5 separate regions of the Homo sapiens genome follow, and regions 2, 3, 4 and 5 are each linked to region 1. The links are contacts of gene promoters, found by promoter capture Hi-C in blood cells and fetal thymus (Javierre and others, 2016). All regions are on one chromosome and are shown on one strand. The core of a region is centred on a gene start or on the middle of the fragment in contact, and the rest is flanking DNA. Distances in the headings are between cores, read along the strand shown.

What was found. The method cuts DNA at HindIII sites, captures the fragments that hold promoters and counts their contacts. A CHiCAGO score of 5 or more calls a contact.
Region 2: a contact is called between a fragment that was not itself captured here and the fragment with the promoter of MEF2C in region 1, in 1 of 17 cell types (neutrophils). The highest score is 5.7, in neutrophils.
Region 3: a fragment that was not itself captured here is called in contact with the fragment with the promoter of MEF2C in region 1 in 1 of 17 cell types (megakaryocytes); the score reaches 6.6 in megakaryocytes.
Region 4: a fragment that was not itself captured here is called in contact with the fragment with the promoter of MEF2C in region 1 in 1 of 17 cell types (total B cells); the score reaches 6.0 in total B cells.
Region 5: a fragment that was not itself captured here is called in contact with the fragment with the promoter of MEF2C in region 1 in 4 of 17 cell types (megakaryocytes, M0 macrophages, M2 macrophages and 1 more); the score reaches 7.3 in megakaryocytes.

Annotation. Positions count from the first base shown.
Region 1 is chr5:88,881,495-88,884,960 of GRCh38, reverse strand. MEF2C (myocyte enhancer factor 2C) reads left to right here and starts at 1,777. Exons shown (of 11, transcript NM_002397.5): 1 at 1,777-2,006. It overlaps MEF2C-AS1 (MEF2C antisense RNA 1), which reads right to left and starts at 1,631. Exons shown (of 10, transcript NR_136219.1): 1 at 1,476-1,631. RefSeq lists an enhancer at 670-719. The HindIII fragment of the contact is 10,727 bases long and covers 1-3,466 here.
Region 2 is chr5:89,723,134-89,726,599 of GRCh38, reverse strand. All of the region lies in intron 1 of LINC02161 (long intergenic non-protein coding RNA 2161), which reads right to left. Among named protein-coding and RNA genes, the nearest start is that of LINC02161, 140 kb to the right of the region's middle. The HindIII fragment of the contact is 3,655 bases long and covers 1-3,434 here.
Region 3 is chr5:89,453,121-89,456,586 of GRCh38, reverse strand. The region is part of intron 8 of MEF2C-AS1 (MEF2C antisense RNA 1); the gene reads right to left. Among named protein-coding and RNA genes, the nearest start is that of LINC02161, 130 kb to the left of the region's middle. The HindIII fragment of the contact is 3,925 bases long and covers 1-3,466 here.
Region 4 is chr5:89,436,055-89,439,520 of GRCh38, reverse strand. The region is part of intron 8 of MEF2C-AS1 (MEF2C antisense RNA 1); the gene reads right to left. Among named protein-coding and RNA genes, the nearest start is that of LINC02161, 140 kb to the left of the region's middle. The HindIII fragment of the contact is 2,270 bases long and covers 477-2,746 here.
Region 5 is chr5:89,396,139-89,399,604 of GRCh38, reverse strand. All of the region lies in intron 8 of MEF2C-AS1 (MEF2C antisense RNA 1), which reads right to left. Among named protein-coding and RNA genes, the nearest start is that of LINC02161, 180 kb to the left of the region's middle. The HindIII fragment of the contact is 2,907 bases long and covers 426-3,332 here.

The DNA of each region.
Region 1 (3,466 bases), core at 528-3,027:
ATAATTCTACTGGCATGCAATCTTGTCTTTTCATGATTCTATACTAGTTGATGTATTTTATCTTTGGCTTTATTGGGCATGGTATATATTAACAGTTGGTTAGGGCGGGAGGTGCCCAATCTCTAGTAGCCTAAATATTAAAGCCTTTTTTTTTTTTTTTTGTAAGGAAAAGTGTTTATCATGCTTTAACCTTAACATAAGTATCCTCCCTTATCAGTCTCTATTTCTGCTTCCTGTGCAGCTGAAACTCTTCAGGATAAGTGAAGTCATCAGCTATCGGCTAGGGTAGCCTAATGCATTTGGGAAGTTGGTTTGGTTTACATGTTAATGACCTGGATGAAGTCCAGTAAGGTGTGGAAAAGATAGAGTGGGGGGAGGGGGGGAACTCCGAGGAAGCTGCTTCCTCGGTAAATATTTCCAAACTGATTAGAAAGTTCATGGCCCCGCGATGAAGTCGAGATCTCAAATACTGGTAATTATTTTATTATTTCGTACATTACTAACATTAGAGAAACCTTTCGGCTCGCTTTCTAGCGCTCCAACCTCTCAGGGTGAAAACCGCGACTTCTGGGCGTGCAGGAAAAGCACGCTGGAATCGAGTGCTGCAGACATCCTGGACCGTGGTTTTTACGCGTGAGTAACGGAGGAGCGCACCGACCGGTGGAAGAGAGAAGTGGCTAACGCGTGTCCAAAAGGGGGAAAAGTCACAAGAGCAACTATTAGGGTCGCGCTCCTATTGGTCAGAGGAAAGATCCCGACTTTAGAAGGACTTTCCTGCTGGCTGGCTCGCAGCGTCCCCGGAGAGCAAGCGAGCGCGCCGCAGCGGGAGACTAGGTTCTCTCCGAGCGTCCTCCGCAGAGGCGCCGCGAGAGGAGCAGGGAGCCGCAGCTCGCCGTGTTGTCTTCATTTCGTGCAATAAAGAATTGTCATTAGGTTTGCGTATGGCATGTGCTATTACCCCACCGTAAAACTAAAATTAGCAAAATGTCAGGAATGGAAAGATTGATTCACCAAGATGCAATTATCATTTAAAAGTGCTTGATTGAGGTACTGATGTTCAGTGATTTATTCTGCATACCATATACATAATTAAAGTAGTGTAGTGGAGTAATTTATCAATCTAGTTGAGACTGGAGGGGTGAGGAGGGAGCTGCTGTATGTTTGTTTTATTAAAATGCTCCGAGGTCTAGTCCCGCCCCCCTTTTGCAAGAGTGAAACTGATGATTTCTCCAGCTCGCGAGGAAAGAGTCAACGGTTTGGGATTGTGGGGGAGAGAGAGACGGAGAGAAAAAGGCAGCGCGAAGCAAAGGCAAGGACAAAATTAAATAAAGGGGGAAAAAAGGAGGCAAAAGACATTTCATCGGACGTGCTGCTTAGAACCCCAACCATTCGTGCTCCGTCTTCCCTACCACCCCCGCCTCCCCTCCCAGTATCCTTCAATCCCCCCCGCCCCCACCACCCCCAGTCTTTTTTACGCGATGTTTCAAACGCTGTGAGCTGTTCTCCTTTTCCCATTCGTCTTCTGTCACTTCCTTCCTGGACGCAGTTTTCTGGACGAGTCTGGTTACTTTTAATCCGACCGGCCGCTGAGAGCCACTTTCTCCTCCTCCTCCTCCTCCTCCTTCTCTTCCTCCTCCTTCTTCCTCCTCCTCCTCCTCTTCCGAGCGGCCTCGGCGCGCGCGAATGCGCGGCCCCGCGCCCCCCCCCTCGCGCGCGCTCCCCTCGCGCGCGCGCACACACGCACACATCGTCTCCAGCTCTCTGCTCGCTCTGCTCGCAGTCACAGACACTTGAGCACACGCGTACACCCAGACATCTTCGGGCTGCTATTGGATTGACTTTGAAGGTTCTGTGTGGGTCGCCGTGGCTGCATGTTTGAATCAGGTGGAGAAGCACTTCAACGCTGGACGAAGTAAAGATTATTGTTGTTATTTTTTTTTTCTCTCTCTCTCTCTCTTAAGAAAGGAAAATATCCCAAGGACTAATCTGATCGGGTCTTCCTTCATGTAAGTACCCCTGATATTTCTCGAGGAAATAGAAAACCCGGGTATTGTCTCTAAAATCTGCATCAATATATTCCACGGCACTGTGTCTATCTATCCCTGTGCCTTTTTTGAAGGCTGAAGTTGAGGCTCGTTGTGCATTCTTTTTCGTTAGATTCCATGATTTCCTTGTTTGTTGCTAAAAGTAACTTTTTAGATAGTCGTATCCGTTTGCCATCAGCTATTGAAATCACTCCTGACTCGTTCCTGTCACACCAGTGTATTTAAAGTTTCATGAAGTTAGTTCACGTCATTAGCATGTTTGATATGGTGGAGCGTGTGGAGCCTGGTGGATTTTAATATTTCACAGCATGTTCTGTGACCTTGAAGTAGACGCCTTAAGATTTAGCAGTTAGTTCACTGTGGAAAGATGCTCCCATGAGTCCCCCCAAAGACACTGATTTGCCCTGGGTTATGCTTCTGAGCCACTAATTCTTGGGATTAGTTTGACCTAAAGCATGGCTGTCTGTCAGAGTATACCTTTGTGCATTTCCTTCCCTCACCAAAGTGCCGGCTTGACAGAGGGCTTCTTAATTGGTGTGGACAAAAAGTAATATCCCTGCCATAGTAGTCTACACATTTCACAATTCACGTTCGATTTCAGCATATGGATTGCTGTTCAGGTCAAGTCAAATACATAGCTGTTTAAAAGCAAGCAAGGTTAAGTCACTTAAATTGCCTTCTCTTTGGACTTGGAATGAAAGTTACCAAACTCGATGATAAAGTTTGTCACAAAGGAAGTATATATAGATGTGGCACATTGTTTATTTTATTATTAAATATTGTGGAAGTATTTAAATTTAATGCTAATGTTACCTTCCTTCCCTGAACATGGCTATTGCTTTTTAAAGGAAATTTTATATCTGAATCACTTCTGACTATTCTAAGTCCAGTAGTTATCATTCTTTGGGGAGAGCCTTTTTTTGTCACATTTTAGGAATGCGTGTCTTTTGTATAAAATACTTTATATGTAAATGCTGACAGTAGACTAAGTAGAATTGGGCTCTCTGCCAGTTCCTTAACCGGTCCTCAGTGGAGAATTGCTTTGACACAAAGTGCGTTTTACTATTGTGAATCTGAAACTAACTCTAATAGTAACTGTCTTATGAAATGCTTGGGGACTGCATATAATTTCTAAGTGCTATAAAGGAAACTCCAGCCACCTCATTATACCAGTCCAAAAAAAAAAAAAGCGACTAGCCTACTTTCACTGGCACCTTGCAATGGAATTGTGGTTGCAGAGTAAAGATGTTTATGTGGAGTATAATAACTCCAATCCCTAGAGACTTGGTAGGACATGGAAATGTGACCACCTGTGAACCCCGTTTAACCTCGTATTGCATACCAATTTTAGCTTTAAATAGATCAACAATCTCTAATTTGAAACTAAAACATCTTATTTAATTTTAAAAAATGTCAGTTTT
Region 2 (3,466 bases), core at 358-2,857, 840 kb before region 1:
CCATGTAAGTATTTGATGAAGACTAAGTGTTGCCCCACCATTTGGCAAACCGTACATTGTTATAAATATGTAAGATATCTCTATGATCATTTCTCTGGGCCAGGCAGAGTAGGAAAAAAATCTACTTGAGGATGAAGATATTATGACAATTATAATAACTAATATTTATTAGTTATTGTACTTATTTATGGTGGGTTAAAAATATAGGTACCACATGGCATTCATCAATGCCAAATTAGGTGTTCAGAAGATAAAACTTGTGAATTCAGGGTAAGAAGAGATCATCATGAACTGTGGAGGTCAGGAATGACTTCATGGGAGAGCTTGGATGTAACGTGGACTTTTTTAAATGGAAGGACTTTGACATTCGAGGTGAACGAAGAGAGCACTCTGATCAAAGGGAACAGAAGAGCTAGGTATGTCAGGAGGAAAATCTCTTTCATAACCCAAGAAAAATACTTGTACCCCAAATGTGATTTGTATTAAAAATGACTTTCAATTTGTATGGCTACAATCAGGGCATGCTGTCAATAGTTTGCCTCTAAGCATCATCACTGACCATTGTCATATATTTAGCAGTTCTATATTTTAGTGCTATCTCCCTTGTCCTTCAAGACATTTGAGTTTGAGATCCCTTGCAAAAACAAGAGCAGATTTAAAATGGAAAAGAGGAAAGTAGAAGATCAAAGATGATCACCTCCCAAGGTTAAAAAGTAAAGTTTAGTGACTTCAGATGCAAAGCATGTTCTAATAGATATTATAATAGAAAACAAAAAGATTTTAAAATAGTCATAAAAAACCCCTTACCCTTTTGAGAGGAATAGACATTGCTGTAGATTCTTTAAGTTATTTGTGGTTGGTAGAATTAACCCCAATTTAATAGATGAGTAAACTGAGTCTCAAAGGTTGTGAGTTGTCCAGGATTATGCTGCTAACAAAAGGTAGCTTGGGATTGAAGTATTACTACTTATCTATCATGTGTCACGTATGGAAAGACACTACCATATATTTTCTACTTCAGTCTTCATAATTAGTTTGTGTGTGGGGTATTAATACTCCCAATTTTACAAAGGTTTTTGTGCTACATATTTCTCAGTTGAGGCAGGGATCTCTGGGTATCATGGCAGATGCCAAATTTCAGATCCTCAAGACTGACATTTTCGCTCCTTTATGTTAGAAGGATCAAAACATCAGAATCTAAGCCATTAGATGCCATAATAAAGCAGTTCACCAGCCCTTCATTCTGATGTGGGTTATTAATATTTCTGGTCAAAGCCATAGGTCATACTTAACCAACTTCAGTGGAAAAGCCCCAGGTGCAGCAAATACTAAGGGAAAACTCCAGACTTCCCTGAACTCTTAATGTTGTTCAACACTTTAAAAAATATCCTTTAAAGATATGTGCAAATTGCCTTCTTCAAATAGGAAAAGCAGGCAGAGGTTCTGTAATTTCACACCTGCTTCTGGCCAGGCATGGCCTTTGGGCTTTAAAAAAATGACTCAACTTTTTCTTAGGCCTGTTTTAGACCCTTGCAGCACAAACCTTCTGAATGAAATATGTCTTGGGTTGATAGCCTGCTTCAAAACTACTTGGTGCCTCAAACAGCAGGGTGTCTAGAAATACTAGTCTCTGCTACTAGAGCAGAAATCTTAAAGAGCCATGCAAATTGGATCCACCCGGTCTTTAACTTGGGCCAATTCTTCCACAGTATGTGCAGACACATTCTTAGTTGACTTGACTGCATAATAGAGATGATTATAAGCACTTACTTATCTCACAGGGGTCTACTGAAGATTAATTAGTTAATGTTGGCAGACCAAAGGTGCAATATATGTGCTAAGTATTATTATTATTACGGTGCCACTTCTCTTTAAAGAATGTTGTTTCTAAAGTCATAGTGCCTATGTGCCATCTGCTCACAGCAGCCTTTACCATCTCCCTACTCAGAGACTGAATCCGGTATCTGAATAAATAGATGTGCTCAAAAAAAAATCTATCACACCTCCATCTGTGCTTATGGAATATGAATTCAGACATAGGCAGAAATGCAAATCAATCACAAGTGGAGAGGCTTCTCCAGTGCCCAGAGTCACATTTAGAGATGTTGCTCTAATATTCTTGCTTTTCATTTTAGAATCCGCTAACTCACGATGCGATGCTTCCGTGAAATTCTGTCTCTTCTGCATCTGAAATAGGGTGTTATGTTAGAGCCCTGAACTGCCTTCTATTTTGTTCCCAGGAAGTTGAAAGAGAAAACTTCCCCCAGAACACGTTCGCTGCTGATCTTTTGCCGAAATTAGCTCCATGATTTTAATGCTTTAGATATTAGTATAATTATCAGAAGCTAATGAGTTTTTAAAGGTTTCTATATGAAATCATGATTTTGAAAATTCCCTCCTGCCAGAATTATAACTAGGTTATAGACAACATGACATGATCTATGACCCATTTTTACTAATGACTAAAGAATGAAGATTCAGCTTCTTATGAATAAGCACTCTTTCTCGAACATGACAGGGCACTGCAACTATGAAAGCTATGAAAATTAGAAAGATTAAAACCTTGAACTAAAATTATCCAAATGTTTCACAGAAGCGACTATAGTAATATAAATATCATTCCTTTCTTTTGAAAGTTATTGGTATCACAATTATCATAGATATTTAATATTCTCCCACAGTAGGTGGCTCTATGGAATTATTTCTCCCCATCAACCAACTCGCTCTTCCTCGAGTCAGCTGTTGAAAATAAATTTATCTTCTCTCTGAATTTCACCTCACTTGATCCATATACTCATGATAATTCCAGTAATTTTTTTGTTTTATTTTCCTGTGCCCAATTTGTTAACAGATTTTCTCTTTAATCCAAAGATATCCTAAGACATTTTCATGATGGCTATAGAATTAATCAAATAGGTAATAAGCTCTTGTTCATTATAGCTTCTGTGACCTGTTATATGCATAATCTGATCTCATGGAGGATGCAAGTAATATCTGAATTCAATTCATCTAATCTAAATTATGCATTTACCTTATGAGTTGGTTAGGTTTTAGGGATATAAAGAGGAATAAAGTACCATACCTGGCCTCAACTCAAGAAGATAAATCTGTAGCTAACTATATTAAAATGATAAGTTCCAAACTAGGTAATTTGAACAAGTCTTGAGAGAGCTCAAAGGGGGGAATGATTCATTCCATTGAGAGTCAGGAAAGAGAGTTTCAGAAGTCTTCAGAGAGATGATATCTGAGTTACGTGGTGGGGGATGAAAACAGCAGCACTAGGTGGAAAAAAAATACAAGGCACACAGCTATCCTAGCTCTAGACTTTCAAGCAGATTGATGCTTCCTTGAACTATGCCATTCTCTCTTATTAAAAATGAGCCTTGAACATGCTTCCCAGTTTTTGTTTTTTTTTAATTTTCTTTTTGGAAGCTTCGATTTTACTCCTCTCTCAAATCCCAGTTCC
Region 3 (3,466 bases), core at 675-3,174, 570 kb before region 1:
TCCATTTCAATTGGTATTGTTGCTAATCTATTCTACTTGATGACGTTTGCAAGACATTTTATGATTCCAAAGGACTCTATTTCTTTTATCCTTCATTCCTTTCTTTCTCTGTTTTATGATTTTTATTACTTTTTTTTATTAGTTCACAAGCCTAAATTCTATTTTAATCACTTATTACTTATTTCTATTCAAACCTTTTGAAGAGTAGGATTCTGTTTTAATTCTTTCACAAGTTTCACGATCTTGAATGAGATGATAATAAGATGGTACAACTATAAATACCACAAATTAGGGGAAAAAAAGTATCAATGACTGAGTCTTAGTCAGTTTGGTCTGCCATAACAAAATATCATAGACTGACTGGCTTGAATGACAGAAACTTAATTTCTCACAGTTCTGAATGCTGAAAGTTCAGGAACAGGGTGACAGCATAGTCAGGTTCTGGTGAACACTCACTTCTTGGCTTGCAGTTGGCCAGTTTTTTGCTGCATCCCCTCATGGCAGAAGGAGAGTTAGTTGTCTGATGTCTTTTCTTATAAGGGCACTAATCCACTATGAGGACTCAACCCTTATGACCTCATCTGCACCTAGTTACCTTACAATGGCCCCAACTGGAAATATAATCATATTGGGGGTAAGAACTTCAACATATACATTTTGGCAGGATACAGTTCAGTCTATATCAGACTGTTGTCTCAAAATCTGTGACCTAATATCATCAGCTTAATGGCAAGGTTTTCAGTAGAACCAATAAACCTTGATGACCAAGATTTCAAGTTGTCAGACATTTTGACATTACAACTGCAACTTTGGGGATGATTAGCTCTCTATATTATTATTATTATTATTACTATTTTGAGATGCAGTTTCACTCTTGTCACCCAGGCTGGAGTGCAATGGCATGATCTCAGCTCACTGCAACCTCCGCCTCCTGGGTTCAAGTGATTCTCCTTCCTCAGCCTCCCAAGTAGCTGGGATTACAGGCACCCACAATTATGTATAGCTAATTTTTGTATTTTTAGTAGAGACGGGGGTTTTACCATTTTGGTGAGACTGGTCTTGAACTCCTGACCTCAGGTGATCCACCGGCATCAGTCTCCCAAAGTGCTGGAATTACAGGCGTGAGCCACTGCACCAGGCCCTCTACACATTATTTTAACCAAATTCTTCTTTATTCCTAAAAAGTTCTTCCACATAACCTCTTCAATCAACTTTTATGCATGATTACAAATTCCACACAAATTTTGACCCTGTCTCCCCACTGTTTGCTTTCTTTCTTTCTTTCATTCTTTCTTTTTTTCTCTCTCTCTTTTTCGCCACTTTTGTCCTATCCACCCATTGCCTCATTCCCTACCTAGTATTTACCTTGTCCTACTCAGCCTTAATCAGGACAGTCCCTACATCTCCCTGCAACATCTGAAAATCTTGCCTTTGAGTCAAACATCTTATAATATTTCTTCTCTGGTTGCTTCCTCTCATTACTATCTGCATGAATCTCACCAAAGCATATGGGATTTCTTGACCACTTCTCTTTTCCTCCTTCCAGAAAAGTCAATTTTCCTGACACTTTCTCTCTAGATTCTCTTCCAATGTCTCTCCCTTTGCTTTCTCTATTTCTCTTGCTTCTATTACAAACCTAAATCTAGGCATTCCTCTAAGGCTCTTTCCTTTATCTTCCCTATTCTCACTGCATTTCCTGATACCATCCACTTCCGAAAGTCTTACTTTCACCTCTATGAAGATAACAACCAACTAATTCTTCATTCTAACTTCACAGTTCAGATCATAATCAAGATCTCAAGCCTGGGAGAAGGTCAGGGCTGGGAGAGGAAGGCATGAAGAGGTTTTTAATTGGTGACAGAAAGAATATTTCAATGATAAATATAATTATCTTTGATATCATTCTCTAGTTGATTTATTACCTGGCCTTTCATTTCATTTAACACTTTCGTTTTATACTACTTCTTCCGGTATAAAAAAAGCTCAGGCTTCTCCTACTCTACCATATCACAGTCACACTGCTGTAGCTGAGTTCCTTTTCCAGTGTCATTTGGATGGCTCTAAATAATGTGCATAAAGTTGTTTTCACCATATTTGTCTTCTTTTCTTACCATCCCCATGTGTGTTTTATGTTAGTAGTTTTATCACTCTTCTAGCAGTCCAGTCTCAAATCCCTTTTGTGTCCGTACATTCCCCCCATGGACATATATTTAATAGTCTTCATAATCTCTGAATTTTTTTCTGGAATTTCTCATGCACCTAATGGCTCCATTTCCTTTCTATTGGCATTCTTTTATTCAGACTTTCATTTTGGTTTATCCACATTATTGTATTCTCTCCCTACATGATTCTCTCTTGACTGCTCATTTCTGTCTCCCAGTTCATTATTGCAAGCCACTCATTTTCTTCTATCTTCATTCACCTTAATGAGTTCTTACTGCCTATAAAACAAAACCTAAGGCTTTCAAGGCCCGCTACAAATCAGGAAGTGCCTAACTTTTGTGATACACAACCTGCAAGTTCTCTCCAAATACCCTGCACTTTTCCCGCCAAATCCTACTTATCATTTTCCTTTTTTAGAGATGTGGTCTCACTGTGTTGCCCAGGTTGGTCTCAAACTCCTGGCCTCAAGCCAACCTTGTGCTTCAGCCTCCCAAAGCACTTGGATTACAGACATGAGCCACTGTGTCTGGTCTGCTTATCATTCTTGAATGAACTTGGTTAATAACACAGTGGTGATGCCACTGCCTTCACATGGTCAAGAGGTTTCCCCACTTTTTCCATATGTTGAAATAGTCATTCCTTTAAAGAGCAACACAGATGTCAACCTCACCTGAAGTCTTCCCTGTTTCTTCCTGCCAAAACTTTCAGTTCAGACACACACACACACACACACACATTTTTAAATTTAAATGTCTTACCACCTTCTACTATAGTTACTGTTACCCCTTCCTTATCTCTTCCAATAGATTAGGAATAACTTTGTGTCTAGAACCATATCTTATCTATACCTTCCTCCTTCTCTACCACTATTGTCTAGATCAATACATACTTGTTCAAGTAATGTAGGTTAAATTTTGATAAATATCTATCTTTGGAATAAAAATCATTAACTTACTACTATGAAAAAATCTATACTTTTACTATTATGTGTGATTTCTTAAGAGAGTACTTAAAATAATTATAATACTGTTAATGATTAGAGGAAGCTGCCTTTGGTTTTCTTTTCTCTTTTTTTTCTTTGTTTTTGAGAGAGAGTCTTGCTCTGTCACCTAGGCTGGAGTGCAGTGGCATGATATCTGCTCACTACAACCTCTGCCTCCCAGGTTCAAGTGATTTTCTTGCCTCAGACTCCCCAGCAGCTGGGATTATAGGTGTGCGCCACCACACTCAGCTATTTTTTAAAATATATTTTTAGTAGAGACGGGGTTTTGCCATGTTTGCCAGGCTGGTCTCAAACTTCTGG
Region 4 (3,466 bases), core at 362-2,861, 550 kb before region 1:
AAAAGAAAATGAAAAGGGTCTGAATATTATTTTATAAAACTTTGGTTTGTTTTACAAGACAATAAATTAAAGCAATTTTTCTGAGTAGCTCAGGCAGTAAAACAGTTCATCTGAATTAGTCAAAGTGGAAATGTGAGTTTCTGTCTGAAGAACATAGTTTAACCATAAATTCATGATTCTATACTTTCTCTCTAGCCAGTCCAGAAAAAAAGTCTATCTCTTTCTGGTGAAGAGATTTGAAGCATTATCTTCTTTGTAGCATCTGATTCTGTGAAAAGTTAAGGAAAGGCATTCTTTGGATTTCTAAAAATTATGCACTCAGTGTAATCAGGATAGACTAGGTTATACTGAGATAACACCTCCAAAACTGCAGTAGATAAGTGCAACAAATGTATATTTATTGATCATATTACGTGTTCATCCCAGGACAGCTGGGAACTCAGCTCTACATCTTCTCACTCCAGGTTGATGAAGCTTCTATCATCTGGAATGCTGCTGGTTGCCTTGACAGTGGTAGGGAACAATAGCAAACCGAATTTCCTTTTAAATATTCCATCTTGAAGAGACACCTATCACTTCTCCTCACATTTCATTAACCAAGGCAAGTAATGAGGACACGAAGTGTGTTTCATGTCCTGAGGATAGGGAAATGTATTTTGACCATGTGACCAGAAGGAGAGGTAATAGTGACCAATTATAAGAGACCCTCCATGGGAAGGCTGAGCAATGAATTTTGTCTCTTTTCATTGTTGTTTACAAACTCTTTCATCTTAATGATTGTGTGAAAACCTACATTGATTAATATGGTCAAAGGTAATGCATAGCTTATCCTTCATAGTTTCATTTCAGACAAAAATAGAAAAAAAGTAGACTCCTGCTTGCAGAGACCCATTTCCCTGAAATGTTTTCTGGCTTTTTGTTTTTTTGACAAAAGAACAGCCAGCCATTAGAAAATTACTGGGCTTGTAAAAACATCGCTATTATAATAAATATCCTAGAGTCTCAGTGTATGAGCAGTGCTATGGACACCAACTTCTCAGTTTATTTTATGTGCTCTTTCTGCCTCTCTATGTTGAAAGTCAGGGCCTCTGCTTTCTCCAAAGATGTCCTTGGATTGACATCGCCATTATGGCACCAGTTGTTATTGCTGTGCTGTTGCCAAGGTAGCCAAAATATAGACCTGGGTTCAAAGTAGTAACTGGGTGTGTAAGAGGGTAGTCACTTCTACTCTCATGGATACAGCTGCTTGAATGTGACAAATACTATTAAGATCGTGGGTCTTATTACCTCAAACCACAAGGTGCTATCTGAACAAATGCTTGGCTTTTAACTGTCAGATTCTTGAATGTGTCACATTTTTCTTCGGATCTTTGGGTTATTGTAACAGCTGTTTGTAAACATTGTAAAGCCCACATTAGCTACAGAGTGAGTAGAAATATTTTGACCCAAATATCTGCCCCCTGAACCATGATAAGGAATGTAGCCTGTATGCTGACACTTAAGCAGTAGATTTAAATAGAAACTAGGATCAACTTCCAGCTGAATAAGTCAATAGGCATTTTTGATTTCTGACTCCATCTGGGTCAGTTTTCATTCATCAGATGGCCCAAAAACATCCATTGACGTTGAGACCTTAAATGAAAAAAAAAAAAAAAAAGGTAATAAACTAACAGGTATTTCCAACAAGATTTTGGCTGGGCAATATTTTCAATGAGAGTCTAATCTATCCTCTTTGTTTGACAGTTAAAGTTACCAGTGCTTGTTTAATAGCCATCCTTTTCTTTAGAAACAGGGACACAAACAGCTTTAGAATTTGTCATGCTCTGATCTCTTTCATTCTGAAAATACCCCATGCTATTTTATGTGGTGGTAATGAGTTAGATATTTCTAGTGTTTGCCTGGGTAAGCAGTCATGAGGGCTGTTGTAATAAGTAAATAGTAAGACTACATTGCTCTGATAATAGCAACTTTCATTGAAGGATGTGAATGTGCCTTGCAAAAGAATGATATAGAATCCTTAGAAAGGCTTTTATTAGCAGAAATGTAATACAACTATTTTTAAAATGGAAACAGTAAGGCAGAGTGGAGAAAGAATCTCTGATATTGTGTTTCTAGTATCAATTGTAATTTGGGACATCTAAGCTATCAACCCAAGCAGTTAAGAAAAGTTCTAGTAAGAAAATGAACTTGTAGCACATTGAATATTATGGGAAATCTTGTCCTCAGCATTTCTGGATTTTGTAGATCCACATATCTGCCAAGAAGTTGTATTAGATAGTTACCTTTGGAAGCGGCCAAATGATATACATCCAGTTGAAATTGTGATTAGGATTGAAAACATATTTCTTACATTAATAATCTAATCCTTTTGTCCACTCTTTACAAAATAATTAGATATATTATGGCCATGACCCCCAAAAGTTAAAGATATTTCCTATCAAGCTCACTTAAATATAGACAACCATCTACTATTTTATATATAATGGTTATAGCAGTAAAGATAAAGCTCATATATTTGCTTCTGGAAGAAGTACTTTTTTTTTTTTAGAAGATCAACCCTCTTGTTTTTTATTCTAAATATTTGAGTCATAATTAAAGGTAGTTAGGATTAAATACATAAATAACAAGGTAAGGTAGCTTAAGTGTATGCTGGGTAACAGGCAATGTCAGACCAAGATTTTACTGGAGCTAATCAAGACAACTGAATGTGGGATGCATGTTTTCATTGTAAAAATGCAGGCAAGCTTTTTAATGTTTTCTTTTCATGTGATGTTTAGACAAATTGAGGTTTGTTCTTGTCTCATCGAGCTCTCATTTTCTCTTTCTGTCGTTCTTATTCTCTCTCTCTCCCTCCTTCCCTCAAGGAGAATCTCGAAATGAAACTGACAGAGCTGTGTTTCACTCTTTTATGGTGTAATGTTTGTGAGGTTTCTCACATTGTTTACATGTTTCCTTGAAATAAAGATGGCACTTTCATTGAGCATGTGTCCTGAATTTCCTCACAAAATCAAAATTGAAAATGGAGGCTAGAAATAATGCTTAATATCTTTTATGTCTATTTTGTCATGAAAATTATTCTTTGTCAAAACTGGCCCTGTATAAATAGAGAGGAAGAATATATTTTTGCTCTATTGCCTTCTACACCTCTTTGTATTATTCTAGTACATATTCTAGTATGTTTTTCTAGGTTCTACTCCTAAAGTCCCCAGGAGTCCACAGTTTAGTGACCCTGAACATTTAAGATTTTTAGAAAGTGTCTAATTTCTAAATTTTGCATTCTCATCTATTATTACAAGTTTGCTGGAGTTTTCAGTCTTGTGGGCTATAATGTAATAAGGATGTCAATACTTTATGCATCCTATATAGCATGTGAGCAAATAACAATCCTATCAAGATAGTTTCTTTAGAGAATTTTTTGTAGAAATCATCTTATAAACTGTTGCCATATTTCTAAGTTCACAGAAAA
Region 5 (3,466 bases), core at 630-3,129, 510 kb before region 1:
TCTGAAACCCTTTGCTCTTTGTGAAAGAAAGAAAAATAATCTTGTTTTATTTCCAGTGTTAGAATATAAATCAGTATCATAGCTAATTTCAGAATTTTATGAGTGTTTAAATTAAATACATATAAAACACAATGCCTATTCTTGAAAAGATTTAAAGTATAGAATAGATGTTATATACATATAAAATACGTCAAGTTTTGGTTTTCTTGATTTTTCTATATCCTTTTTTCTTAAAATCTATGTATGTATTCCTACTGAAGCAAAAAATATTAAGAATTATAATTTTTTTCACCAAACTTTTGAGAAAAATTTCAATTAATATAGTTAATATAGCCACATGTATTTAAATAATAGATTGATTAAAAGGAAAATAAAAGAAATTTACCAATTCCAGTCCCAACAGCCTTGAAAATTACAAAAAAGCTTGTGATAAAACTTCAGCCTAGAAACTGCACATTTCTTATCCTGGCCACTGTGTAGGCTTCAGATAAATCCATAACCCTCAAACTTCTGAAGTAGAGACAACATCACTCCCAAGTCAGCACTCACTGTCTACAGTTGAAGTTTGACCCCAGTGTCTAGCTCAGAAACATGACCAAGAAGTAAGTGGTGGGGCTAGAACCAAAAAACCTCCACCATAGTGCTGACTGACTCCCATAGTCTACAATTGTAATACTGGAACTGGAAGTTCCAATACAAGGGCATCAACTAACTGGGAATAGGACAACTTTTTGTGGTATTTATAAAATATCTCTGGTCCACAAAGAAATGGTAATCAGGGGGCAGAAAAGATATTCATTTATTCATGCATTTGTATATACACACATGTTCATGACCTCAATATAATGTTGCATTCTTGGTGAAAATGTAAAGTGGTAAAACCATTATGGAAAATAGCATGAAAATTCCTCAAAAAACTAAAAATAGAGAGACTTTATAATCCAACAATCCCACTTCTGCATACATATCCAAAAAAATGAAATCAGGATCTCAAAGAGATACTGTAATTCCATGTTTAGTGCAGCATTTTTCATAAAACCAAGATATGGAAACAACTCTCATGTCTATAAACAAATGAATGCATAAAGTAAAATGTGGAATATATATTCAATGGAATATTGTTTGGCCTTACAAAAACAAAAGGAAATCTTAACATTTGCAACAACATGGATAAACCTGGAAGATACTAAGCTAATTAAAATAAGTCAGTGTCATAAACACAAATACTCTACTATTCTACTTATATGAGATATCTAAAATAGTCCAACACATGGAGAACAGAATAGTGGTTTCTAAGGGACTTGGAGGAACAGAAATGGGGAATTGTTGGTCAATGGTTATAAAATTTCAGTTATGAAAGGCAAATATGTTCTATAGGTCTGCTGTACAACGTAGTGCCTATAGTTAACAACAGGATATGATACACTTAAAAATTTGTTACAAAGGTGGATTTCATATTAAATGTTCTTACAACAAAAGGAGTGGGATGCATAAGGAAACTTGGAAGTGTTGAATATGTTTATTATCTTGATTGCAGTGATAGTATCACAGGTACATAAATATGTCCCAACTCATCAAACATGCATTAGGCATATGCAATTCCTTTGTATAAAAATTAGACTTTTCTTTTTTTAAAAAAAAAAAAGACCAGGGAGATTGAAATAGTGGCATTACAGAAATGTAATGGTGAGGTACTTAAAGTAGAAAGGACTAAAGAAACCATGTTCGGGTATAAGCATTTCATAGTTAGATAAAAAGCAAAAATAAATAAACTTTCATAGTTCTTGTATTGAGTAATATGTTCAACATTTCAGATATTTACCTCATCACTGAGCTTCAGTTCTTCCTTGAAGTTAACTCCATTATTAACCTTCAACAATTTCTTAAGGCTTGAACTAATTCTGACACTCATTATGTCTTTGATCTCCACCCCATCTCTGAGATTTAATTCTTAGGCTCTGTCCCATTCATCGCATTTGCCTTATCCCACTCCCAAATGACCACTAGCTAAAATTTCACTCTTACTCCAAGGAGAAGGTAAATGTTAGGTACAGAGCAAACTGTGGTATTAGAGGTTGGAAGTGAATGTCAGCAACAAGCTCATACCTGGAGATGAGGTAAAATAATAACAAAGGAGATAAAGGTTACACACATCAATTTTTGTAAAAACAATCATGTTTATATTATAAACTTAATTTATTTTAGAAATATAGAGCATATATAGGCATAGATGTATTTACAGATCCAAATCAGGAAGTATGTCATTCATGGGAATCTAGAGGGTGATTCATAACATTACACATATCTGGCTATTGGGTCTCTGGGGCATAGGTGGCAAGTGAAACCATAAGGCAAATGAGGAACATAAGAGACTCAGAAATGGAGGGAAGAGTATAGAATTGTCAATAAGAAGAAAAAAGGTGCACTGTCTAGTCCTCTTTTCCTATAAGTTTAGTGAAGAGTTGTGAAGAAAATGATTAAATCAAGACATAGAACGAAGTTCCTATAAAGGCATATTAATTGAAAAGTGTTTGATGGCATAGAAAAATGAATTCACAAGATCAGGGGAAAGGGTGAGAGCAAAGGAGCAGTCAAGACTGAAGTGTGTCTAAGGAATTAGAAGTAGTTGGATTGAAATTCACATGTCAGAGAGTAAAGTACAGAACATTTGACTTTCACTTTTGATAGTCACTGGAATAAAACATTGATGGATGCTGGAGTTGGGAAATAAACTAGAAGGCCATGGTAAAACAGGAACAGGATATGCAGACTTTGCTGTTGACAGAATTTGCAGCTTTTTGAAACCACAAAGGCCTGACTGGGGACTGGGATGTTGCTGTGATCTTGTAAACATGCTTCCTCTGCTTGGTTCTGTTGCTGATAACAGCTTCACGTTAGAAAACCGGGTTTTGGAGGACTGTCCCTCAGCACATTTACCTTCTACATGCTCAGCTCTTCAATGAAAACAGAGCATGTTAGGTAAAAGAGGCCCCAGTCCTCCTTCTTCCAGGAATTATGTTGAAGTTACTAGGCAATGTGAAGCTACATAAATTGGCAGTTTATTGGTGAAGTGATGATTTGCAAACTACAGCTTTATATAAAGTTGTAGAAACCAGGGCCTAAAATTATCAGGATAATATTGCACAACTGCTGACTCAAGAAAGCCTCAACTGTTTCCTTCCACTAAATAGAAAAGGCAGCATCTAGTTTTCATCCTTAAACCAAAACACACATTGTAGGAATGCCTTCTATCCTGATAATTTCACTCCTGTTTTGTGTTAGAACTTCACATATGGTATGATCTACAGTACTAGATAGGAAGGGGAGAAGCTTCACATCCCTAAGTCACTAAATTATCTAATCACTACATGTTGCAGTGACATCAGTAATGGGATGGTCCCCATAGCCCTTTGAGAGTTAACATGATCAGATTTGCCTGTTAAAAGATGATTTTCACACTATATGG